2 separate regions of the Homo sapiens genome follow, and region 1 is linked to region 2. Evidence: promoter capture Hi-C in human tissues and cell types (Jung and others, 2019). All regions are on one chromosome and are shown on one strand. Each heading gives the region's core, a stretch centred on a gene start or on the middle of the fragment in contact. The rest is flanking DNA. Distances are from core to core; before and after follow the strand shown. Region 1 overlaps MTF1 (metal regulatory transcription factor 1). Region 2 holds the start of GNL2 (G protein nucleolar 2).

Evidence for each region. The method cuts DNA at HindIII sites, captures the fragments that hold promoters and counts their contacts. A contact is called where the count stands out against the background at its distance.
Region 1: a contact is called between a fragment that was not itself captured here and the fragment with the promoter of GNL2 in region 2, in 1 of the 25 tissues and cell types used here (bladder).

Annotation. Positions count from the first base shown.
Region 1 is chr1:37,835,508-37,840,472 of GRCh38, reverse strand. MTF1 (metal regulatory transcription factor 1) reads left to right here. Exons shown (of 11, transcript NM_005955.3): 3 at 315-553; 4 at 1,717-1,848; 5 at 4,729-4,802. Among named protein-coding and RNA genes, the nearest start is that of MTF1, 22 kb to the left of the region's middle. The HindIII fragment of the contact is 6,695 bases long and covers 1-4,965 here.
Region 2 is chr1:37,593,571-37,598,151 of GRCh38, reverse strand. It overlaps GNL2 (G protein nucleolar 2), which reads left to right and starts at 2,215. Exons shown (of 16, transcript NM_013285.3): 1 at 2,215-2,393; 2 at 4,306-4,390. The coding sequence starts at 2,330. RefSeq lists enhancers at 2,297-2,486, 2,657-2,716. The HindIII fragment of the contact is 8,299 bases long and covers 1,166-4,581 here.

The sequences.
Region 1 (4,965 bases), core at 477-2,976, 240 kb before region 2:
ACAGGTAGCTGTAACAGTATAGTGTACTTTTAGTGGGTAGATGTATATAGAGTCTGAAAACATTCTTATGTTCATTTAGAATATTCATCTACATATAGACTTATTTCTTCCCCATAAATCATTATGTGTTGTCCAGGTATGATTTGATCAACAATAAGGTTTTTCCACTTTGCTGCTAGAGGCTGTTTTCTGTGTTTATGATGAAAACCCAGTTGTATTGTCCACAGCATCTCTTGGGAGCTGAGCTCTGGGTGGGGGAGTTAAGCCCTGGGCAGCATTTTTGTCCTGTTGATGAGGTATCTTTTCTCTGCCAGGTAAAGCGGTACCAATGTACCTTTGAGGGCTGTCCCCGCACCTACAGCACAGCAGGCAACCTGCGAACCCACCAGAAGACTCACCGAGGAGAGTACACCTTTGTCTGTAATCAGGAGGGCTGTGGCAAAGCCTTCCTTACCTCTTACAGCCTCAGGATCCACGTGCGAGTGCACACGAAGGAGAAGCCATTTGAGTGTGACGTGCAGGGCTGTGAGAAGGCATTCAACACACTGTACAGGTCAGTCTCGTCTCCAATGCTCTGCCAGCCTCTGACCTTGACCTTGTTGTGATGGCAGAGCTCTTTCCCCTTGCAGAGGAGTTGTTTTCACTTTCAGGGCTTTAAAAGAGCGCAGCTGTGTTCAACTACGTAAAATTCATTTCTGCCAGATCTCAGAAAATGAAAGAAAAAAATTTAAAAATGCATTAGAGAAACCTGTTACTTAAAGATGGACGTATCTTGGGCTGGTTAGAAGCGACAGTACATTTCTGTTTAGATTTGCATCTCATGGAGCAGCATTCTGGCCTGGGCATTTCAGTGCTTGGCATAGAGTACTATCTCCCCTTGGCTCAGGATCTTTGTGCTAAGGCTTCTGTCCTACCTAAGCTTGAAGGACTTTTCTATCCTGAGAAATGGGGAGTGGCCTATTCAGTAGCCAATTCTCTTTTTCACGTTTGTATCAGGAGACTTAATAGTCTTCAGTATTGAGTATAAAGTAATAGAAATAACAGTAGCTAACACTTAAAAATACTCACTGTGTGCTAGGCATGATTCCAAGTGCTAGTCCCCACAATAGCTGATAAGTAAATGGAAGCACAGAGGGGTTCTATAACTAGCTTAAGTTTCCCCATCCAAGCAGGATGTGGGGTCAGGATTTGAATCCCAGGAAGTCTGTCTCCAGAGTCACACTCATACCACTGTGCTATTCTCTGCGTTTCTTTTGGGGCAAAATATGTTGGATACTAATATGTTATGGGTATAGAATTCTTACGCACTTGATCCTGAAGCACATTAAGCTGGCATGGGGAGGCTCTGTAGAACTTTATGACAAAGGGAGGCCAGGCGCAGTGGCTCATGCCTGTTATCCCAGCACTTTGGGAGGCCGAGGCAGGCGGATCACCTGAGGTCAGGAGTTCGAGACCAGCCTGGCCAACCTGGTGAAACCCCGTTGTACTAAAAATACAAAAATTAGCCAGGCGTGGTTGTGGGCTCCCATAATCCCATCTACTTGGGAGGCTGAGGCAGGAGAATCGCTTGAACCTAGCAGGAGGAGGTTGCAGTGAGCCGAGACTGCGCCATTGCACTCCAGCCTGGGCGACAAGAGCGAAACTCTGTCTCAGAAAAAAAAAAAAAAAAAAAAAAGAATTTTATGACAAAGGGAATTTTTCTGGAATATTTTGCAGGCTGAAAGCACATCAGAGGCTTCACACAGGGAAAACGTTTAACTGTGAATCTGAAGGCTGCAGCAAATACTTCACCACACTCAGTGATCTGAGGAAGCACATTCGAACTCATACAGGGGAAAAGCCATTTCGGTAGGTCTTACTGTTTTCTATTTGTCACTGACCAGGTTTCAGCTGGGGGTCTTGATATACTCTGGAATTTTTCAAAAAAGAAAGAAAACTCCCTTTACTAGCTCTTGATTTAGCAGTGTTAGCTCACCCCAGGACAGCTATAACCAACCACTGCAGATTAGAGGGGTGCTGATGGAGTCCAAGAACATCCTTACTCTGTGGATGATGGCCTTTCTGCCTCATTTTTTCCCATTTATTTCCAAGAAGCATTTGTTGAAACTCAGTTATGTGGTGGGTACTTTTATTAGTGCTAGAGAAATACTCCGAAGCAGGCCTTCTTCTTAAGAACCTTTGTCTGGTGACAAAAAACCACAAATTTGTGGATAATATCTGAGGCTGCAAGATGGCCAAAGTGCCTTAAGCCCAGAGGAGGGATACCTACCTAAGAATCAAGGAGGGAGGGAATGAGGAGACAAGAGAGGAAATGAGAGGTAGGGATGCTTAGCTTAGTGGTGCAGTTGTTACTTGTTCAAATTATTGCTTTGTAATATCTCGTGTGTATACACAAACATATAGGAGCATCCATTTTTATTCATATATGTCAACATATGTATATCTAATAGATACATTTACTATAAACTTGAAGGAGGGACTTGGGTTATCTACTTTCTTCTCTGCTCATAGTATATAGCATGATTCCAGGCATTCAACAGGTATTCAAAATCAGCTTTGGGATGATTATATGACATTTTTAATGAGATAATCAGTTTGTAAGGATTTCCCCTAAATGTAATATAGATAGATGTATTGCCAAAAACTGCCCATAAACAATGTCTTTGAGGCCGGGCATGGCGGCTCATGCCTGTAATTCCAGCAATTTGGGAGGCTGAGGCAGGTGGATCATGTGAGGTTAGGAGTTTAAGACCAGCCTGGCCAACATGGTGAGACCACATCTCTACTAAAACTACAAAAATCAGCCAGGCGTGGTGTCACATGCCTATAGTCCCAGCTACTCTGGAGGCTGAGGCAGGAGAATTGCTGGAACCAGAGAGGCGGAGGTTGTGGTGAGCCAAGATTGTGCCATTGCACTCCAGCCTAGATGACAGAGTGAGACTCTGTCTCAAAAAAAATAAAAATAAAAAAAAAATAAACAATGTATTTGAATTTTGGCAGGGGATATTCAAGGCATTAGATATGCTACCTGTTCCTTCTTAAACCACTCGTTTTGTTAGGGTACTTAGAAATAAAAAGTCGTTAGAGACAGTCAACTCTTAGATGCCAATCAAATGGAATTGTGGGCTGGGCTTATGTCTGTAATCCCAGTGCTTTGGGAGACTGAGGTGGGAGGATCACTTGAGCCCAGGAGTTCAAGACCAGCTTGGGCAAGTGAGACCCTGACTCTACAGAAAATTTTAAAATTAGTTGGGAGTGGTGGCGCATGCGTGTGGTCCCAGCTATTTAGGAGGCTGAGGTGGGAAGATTGCTTGAGCCTGGGAGGTCAAGGCTGTAGTGAGCCATGGTCATGCCACTACACTCCAGCCTGGGCAACAGAGAGAGACCATGTCTCAGAAAAAAAAGGAATTGTGTTTTTAAGTTACAGATGCATTCCTGAGTCATGATCCCTTTAAGGGCAAGAGTAGTTAGATTGTAATTGGTTACTCTACAGATGGATGCTGTGAAGCTTAGGTTATTCCCCGCCGCCCCCCTTCCCGTAGGCTGCTGAGAGGACTCTGATTTCTATCCAGTCACATGCATTTATTTTTGTGATGATTAAAACTGCATTTTTCTTGAATATTCAATGAGACTTTAGACATGATGATGATTGCATGTAATTAAAAATGAAAATGCTTTAGAGAAGCTTTCTATTTAAAGAAATAAAATATTTTGGTTTATAAGAAAATGCATTCATTCATATAAGTAATTAAGGAATGTCTGCTATGTGCAGGAACTACAGAAAGAGCTACGTGGATCCTGTACTCAAGTAGTTTACACTCTAGGAGAGCAGATACCAGATGTATCCACAGAGAAAATAAGATTGGAAATGAGAGTTGCCATAAAAGAAATGTAAAGAAAAGCCTTAGGAGTTCTGAGGAGGGAAAGATTCCTTTTAGCTTTGGTTATCAAGACAGTAAAAGAGAATGAAGTAGATCTCGACACACAAGATTATAGATAAGTTACTTGAGCCTATCTTCTGATTGATTTTGTTCTTATGTTACATTGCAAGCCATGTACATATTTGAGAGCCACTTTGCTTACTCTTGATATTCCTAATGTTCCACTGGCAGATTTTTCATATGGACTGTCACTGTCAACAGAGGTCTGTTAAGTAATTCATCAAAAGACTTTTGTTGTCAGGGCTCTCAACATGGACCTTACCTGTAGGACAAGAAATACTTATCCTGGGCTCTCAGTTCTCTCTGATCCCAGATATGCCACCTTACTTTTTCAAGAACCTCTCATCATTCCCATCTCTAAAACCAGTGTCATTGATCTGATCTTAGTGTTCTGAATATTTGTTTTAGTTTCTATTTATAAGAGATGTTCAGAGGCCAGGCACAGTGGTTCACGTCTGTAATCCCAGCACTTGGGAGGCCGAGGCGGGCGGATCACAAGGTCAGGAGATCGAGACCATCCTGGCTAACATGGTGAAACCTTGTCTCTACTAAAAATACAAAAAATTAGCTGGGCGTGGTGGTGGGCACCTGTAGTCCCAGCTACTCGGGAGGCTGAGGCAGGAGAATGGCATGAACCCGGGAGGTGGAGCTTGCAGTGAGCCAAGATTGCGCCACTGCACTCCAGCCTTGGGGACAGAGCGAGACTCGATCTCAAAAAAAAAAAAGACGTTCAGGATAAAGATCTATTAGCTAATGACTCCTGTTTCTCTTTCCTTAACAAATTTAGGTGCGATCACGATGGCTGTGGAAAAGCATTTGCAGCAAGCCACCACCTTAAAACTCACGTTCGTACACATACTGGTGAGTTTAGGCCAATTTTTGTTTCATCAAGCCTGTAACTATCAATTTTCCATTGAGACCTGTAGAGCTAGGTGGATATACAGAGATATAGATCCTGTATATATTCAGGTGAGCATAATTAGCTCAGCCTTACCTAGAATGTTTGGGTTTCTTTCAGAGGCGG
Region 2 (4,581 bases), core at 966-3,465:
CCACCATATCATCTGGGAAAATGAAACTCCTTGGCAAGACTTCACAACAGCCTGATTCAAAATTTCATAATGAAATTATGTCTCTGATCAAAGCCTGAATGAGCTCATAGGCTGATTTTTGCCATCCGTGTTTATTCTGGTTTGCACCAACTTGAGGCATCAGAAACACATTAACTGAATCTTCTCTCTGGGAGGAGGCTATGGTATCCTTGTTTTGGGGATCAGAGGGACAGTGTGGGGTGGAAGGGGGCATCTTCACTGATCATGAAGTTTTTTCCAAATAGCTCTCAGAGCTTCCCTAACACAGGTCACAGTCAGGGCCTTCCCAGCAGAGCTGCATTTAATCTCATGATACTTGCCCTTGGGGCAATAAAAGCGAAGCTTGAGGGACAGAAGGTATTTCCAGCTCTAGCCTATGACATGGCCTGCTTTTGCTCTAAAGAGAATGTTTTGGGGTTTGTTTCAAACTCAGAGAAATAAAGACTCAATCATCCCCTGCTCAATTAGAATACCTCACTTTATAACAAATTGTTTGTTTTTATGAAATGAGCTACACTGCATGAATCCACCCTTCCTCTTGCCTAACCATCTCTTCTTTGGCCTATCCAGAGGGTACAAAGATGGCCATTTTCTGACAATTTGAGGTACCAAAAAAGAGAGAGGGACCAGGCGAGGTGGCTCACACTTGTAATCCCAGCACTTTGGGAGGCTGAGGCAGGTGGATCACCTGAGGTCAGGAGTTTGAGACCAGCCTGGCCAATGTGGTGAAAGCCCGTCTCTACTAAAAATACAAAAATTAGCTGGGCATGATACCATGCGCCTGTAATCTCAGCTACTTGGGAGGCTGAGGCAGGAGAATTGCTTGAACCCGGGAGGTGGAGGTTGCAGTGAACCGAGACCGGGCCACTGCACTCCAGCCTGGGCAACAAGAGCGAGACTCCGTCTCAAAAAACAAAAACAAAAACAAACAAACAAAAAATAAATTGTAAAAAGAGAGAGGGCTTCTTGGTTCAAACACTGGCATCTAGACACTTTATTCTGGCTAGTAGAAACAGAAATCACTGGGTCTTAATGCCTTCCTTCATCCTCAAGGCAAGAGACATTCCCATCTACTCATTCTTTCACTTAATGAATATTTTTTGAGTCCTTTGTTTCAGATGCTATTCAAGTCTTAAAGACACAGCAGTGAACAAATTAACAAGGTCCCTGCTTTTAAGAATCTTACATTCTAGTTTGGGGGAAGCAGCCAATAAACTTGTAAAAAAAATTCAACTAGTGATAAATGCCATGAAATAAATAAAACAGAATACTGTAACAGAATAACTGTGAAAGGGTGAAAGGTGGCTGATTTAGACAAATTAGACAGGAATGAGTTCTCACAGCAGGAAGGGTCACCAGATAAAATACAGAACGTACAGTTACATTTGAATTTCAGGCAAACGATGAATACTTTTTTAGTCTAAGTATTTTCCAGGCACTGTTGGAGGTGTACTAAAGAAAAGTATTCATTTTTTTTCTCTGAAATTCTAATTTAATTTGGTGTCCTGTATTTCTATTTGCTAATTCTTGCAGGCCTACCAATAGGTGATATTTGAGCTTAGGATTGAATGACAGCTATGCAAAGATTCTGGGAAAGAGTGATTCAGGCAGAGAGAATATCCAGTGTAAATGTCAGAATAACCAGAGGGAGGGACGTACACATGAGATTAGATAAATAGGCAGGCAGGGGCCAGATCACAGAATCCTGTAGGGATGGCAAAAAGTTTGAATCAATCTCTGTCTCTGTCTGTTTCTCCCTTCTCCCTTCCCCTACCTCTCATTCTAAGAGTGATGATAAGCCACTGGAGTTGTAAGGAAGAGAATGACACCTCCTAACGGATATTTGGCTGCTGTGTGGTCGGCAACTTTTGGAAGGACTTAGAAGACAAATTCAGAAGACAAACTTAAGCTTGTGCCACTGGCCTGGGAAGAAGCTTCTTTATTCGGAGGTGGACCCAACTGGGAGCTCTGGCCGCGCGTTCAGGTTAACTAGGCGGTTGCTATGAACGGGCAGCTTGGCGGTTGCTAGGGCTGGAGCGGGCTGGGGCTCCACGCAGGGCGACGCCTAGGCGGCTGGAGCGGGGGCGGAGCCAGGAGGGTGACGGCGCGCGCCGCGCGTTCACAGGAAGTCGCTCTGAGGCCGAGAGGGACGCGAGCGGAAGTGACGTACGTCGTGCACACGTGGTCCGGCGTGGTTCAGGCGGGTGTCTTCGGCCGGGCTTGGGAACATAAAAGTTTGTTTCACCACGTAAGCCGGACCTCGCACTCCGGTCCCGGTCTCGTCGCCAAGATGGTGAAGCCCAAGTACAAAGGACGGAGCACCATCAACCCGTCCAAGGCCAGCACAAACCCAGGTACAGGCGGCAGGGCTGATCGAGGGTGGAGCTTGGAGGAAGTATAGGGAAGGGCTCCGAGGAGCACTGGAGGGGAAGGAGGGTTACTCGAGTGGCATTGCTTAGAATGACTACGAGCGGGGTGGCTGTTGGGGATGAAAAGGGAAAAAGGAAAGCAATATTTGTGGTGGTTTCTTCTCAGGGGGGAACTGAGGAGGGCTCAGTGCACGCCTGGCAGGCCAAAGTGTAGTCAACTGGTCTGAAGTCAAGGAAAGTGAACACTCAGGCTGACAGCCTTGGGTCCTCTCCAGTTGAGAGATGCAGAGAAAGTCAGATTAAAAATGGTGTAGGTTGACCCTTCGGGCCTTTTACACGTGATCATACTTGCCTGCCACCTTAGCTTTGACCTTTAAAATGAGAAAGGGCTTATAGTTTTGGCCCTTGGAATTATTCTATCTGGTAAAGTGCTTAGAGAACCCTACAAAGAAGTCAGTATGATCATTGCAGTAAGGCTGTTTAGGAGATGTGTGTAAGTTTTGGCGAGGTTCCACCTGTACGATTAACAAGACATCCTATGGGAGAGTTCCTTCCATTCAGGTTTAATTAATAAAACTTTGTTTTAAAATATGGTTTAGAATTTTTGACAATTTTAATGCAAGTTGAATGTTTATTCCGGATTGATAATAAATTATTCACTTTGCACAAACTGGAATCTCAGAATGTTAGACCCCAAAAGGCCCTTAGAGATTATGATTTTACAGGTGAAGAGACTGAATCAAAATACAGGAAGTGGCCTGTCATAATTGCAACAGTTAGTGAGTAGTAGTAGAGCCGCCAGTTTCTACTGTTAGAGACTGTTAGGAGAGCCAATGGGCTGTGGTTTCAGCCTGTCTTCTACTGTATCACTTCAGGACCAGACAGGTGATTTAAGGGGCTCCTGGCCAGGTGTGGTGGCTCACGCCTGTAATCCCAGCACTTTGGGAGGCCGAGGCGGTCGGATCACCCGAGGTCAGGAGTTCAAGACCAGCCTGACCAACATGATGAAACCCCCTCTCTACAAAAATACAAAGATTAGCCGGGCATGATGGCGGATGCCCGTAATCCCAGCTACTCGGGAGGCTGAGGTGGAAGAATTGCATGAACCGGGGAGGTGGAGGTTGTAGTGAGCTGAGATCGCGACACTGCACTCCAGCCTGGGTGACAGAGCACGACTCTGTCTCAAAAAAAAGATAATAATAATGAATAAATGAATAAATAGGTAAATAAAGGGCTCCCAAAATGAGAAGCTAGGCTAGTATTACCCTATTCGTTTGTCCTTCTCTTTCTCTTTGAGATGTAAGGCAAGAATTGCTGTGTTGATTAAACAAAAATCAAACATTAAGAAAGTAAGAACACATATATCAAAATTATAGTCTCCATGGTGCCTTGCATGGAGCAGGCACTCAATATTTGTTAAACTGAGACACAGAGGTAGGTATCTTCGTGGTTAAGACCATAGATGGTGATCAAATGCTCATGTACAAATTCTGGCTCTGCCATTTAGTAACGGTTTGACCTTGGGCAAGGTGTCTGACCACTGTGCCTCAGTTTCTCACTCCGCAGCATGGGGATAATATATCTATAGGATTATTGTATAGATTAAATCAGATGATGCCTATAATTTGGATAACACAGTGCCATCATAAGTGCTCAAAAATATTAGCTATTCTTCTCAAATACAATCCTATCGAAGATCAAAGATTGGGTCAGCTTTGTCATACCATGTAGCTTCAAGTACTAATTATTGGAGCAACATATGGAGAAAGTAGAGATTTTTGTGGTTGGTGGCTTCTTACCTAATTTGGGTGAACTACTTGTTGCATTTTAAGCAATGACTTGTTGGTTATACTGGTTGGTTATCAAATAGTGCACTGTGTACTTCTGCCTTTTGTAGATCGAGTGCAGGGAGCAGGAGGCCAAAACATGAGGGACCGGGCCACCATCCGGCGCCTGAATATGTATAGGCAAAAGGAGCGCAGGTGAGCACTGGGTGCTGTCATCCTTTCTCTTTTCCTTCATGCCCTTGACTGCTAGCTGAGACTGATGAAGCCTTTGCTGTTCTCACCCCCACTTCCTCCAAATAGGAGTTATATATTCTCAAATATAATTGTACGTGAGTGTCGTTAGGATAAAGTGTTAACTTTTGGTTAAGGACATGGGTAGCTGGCGG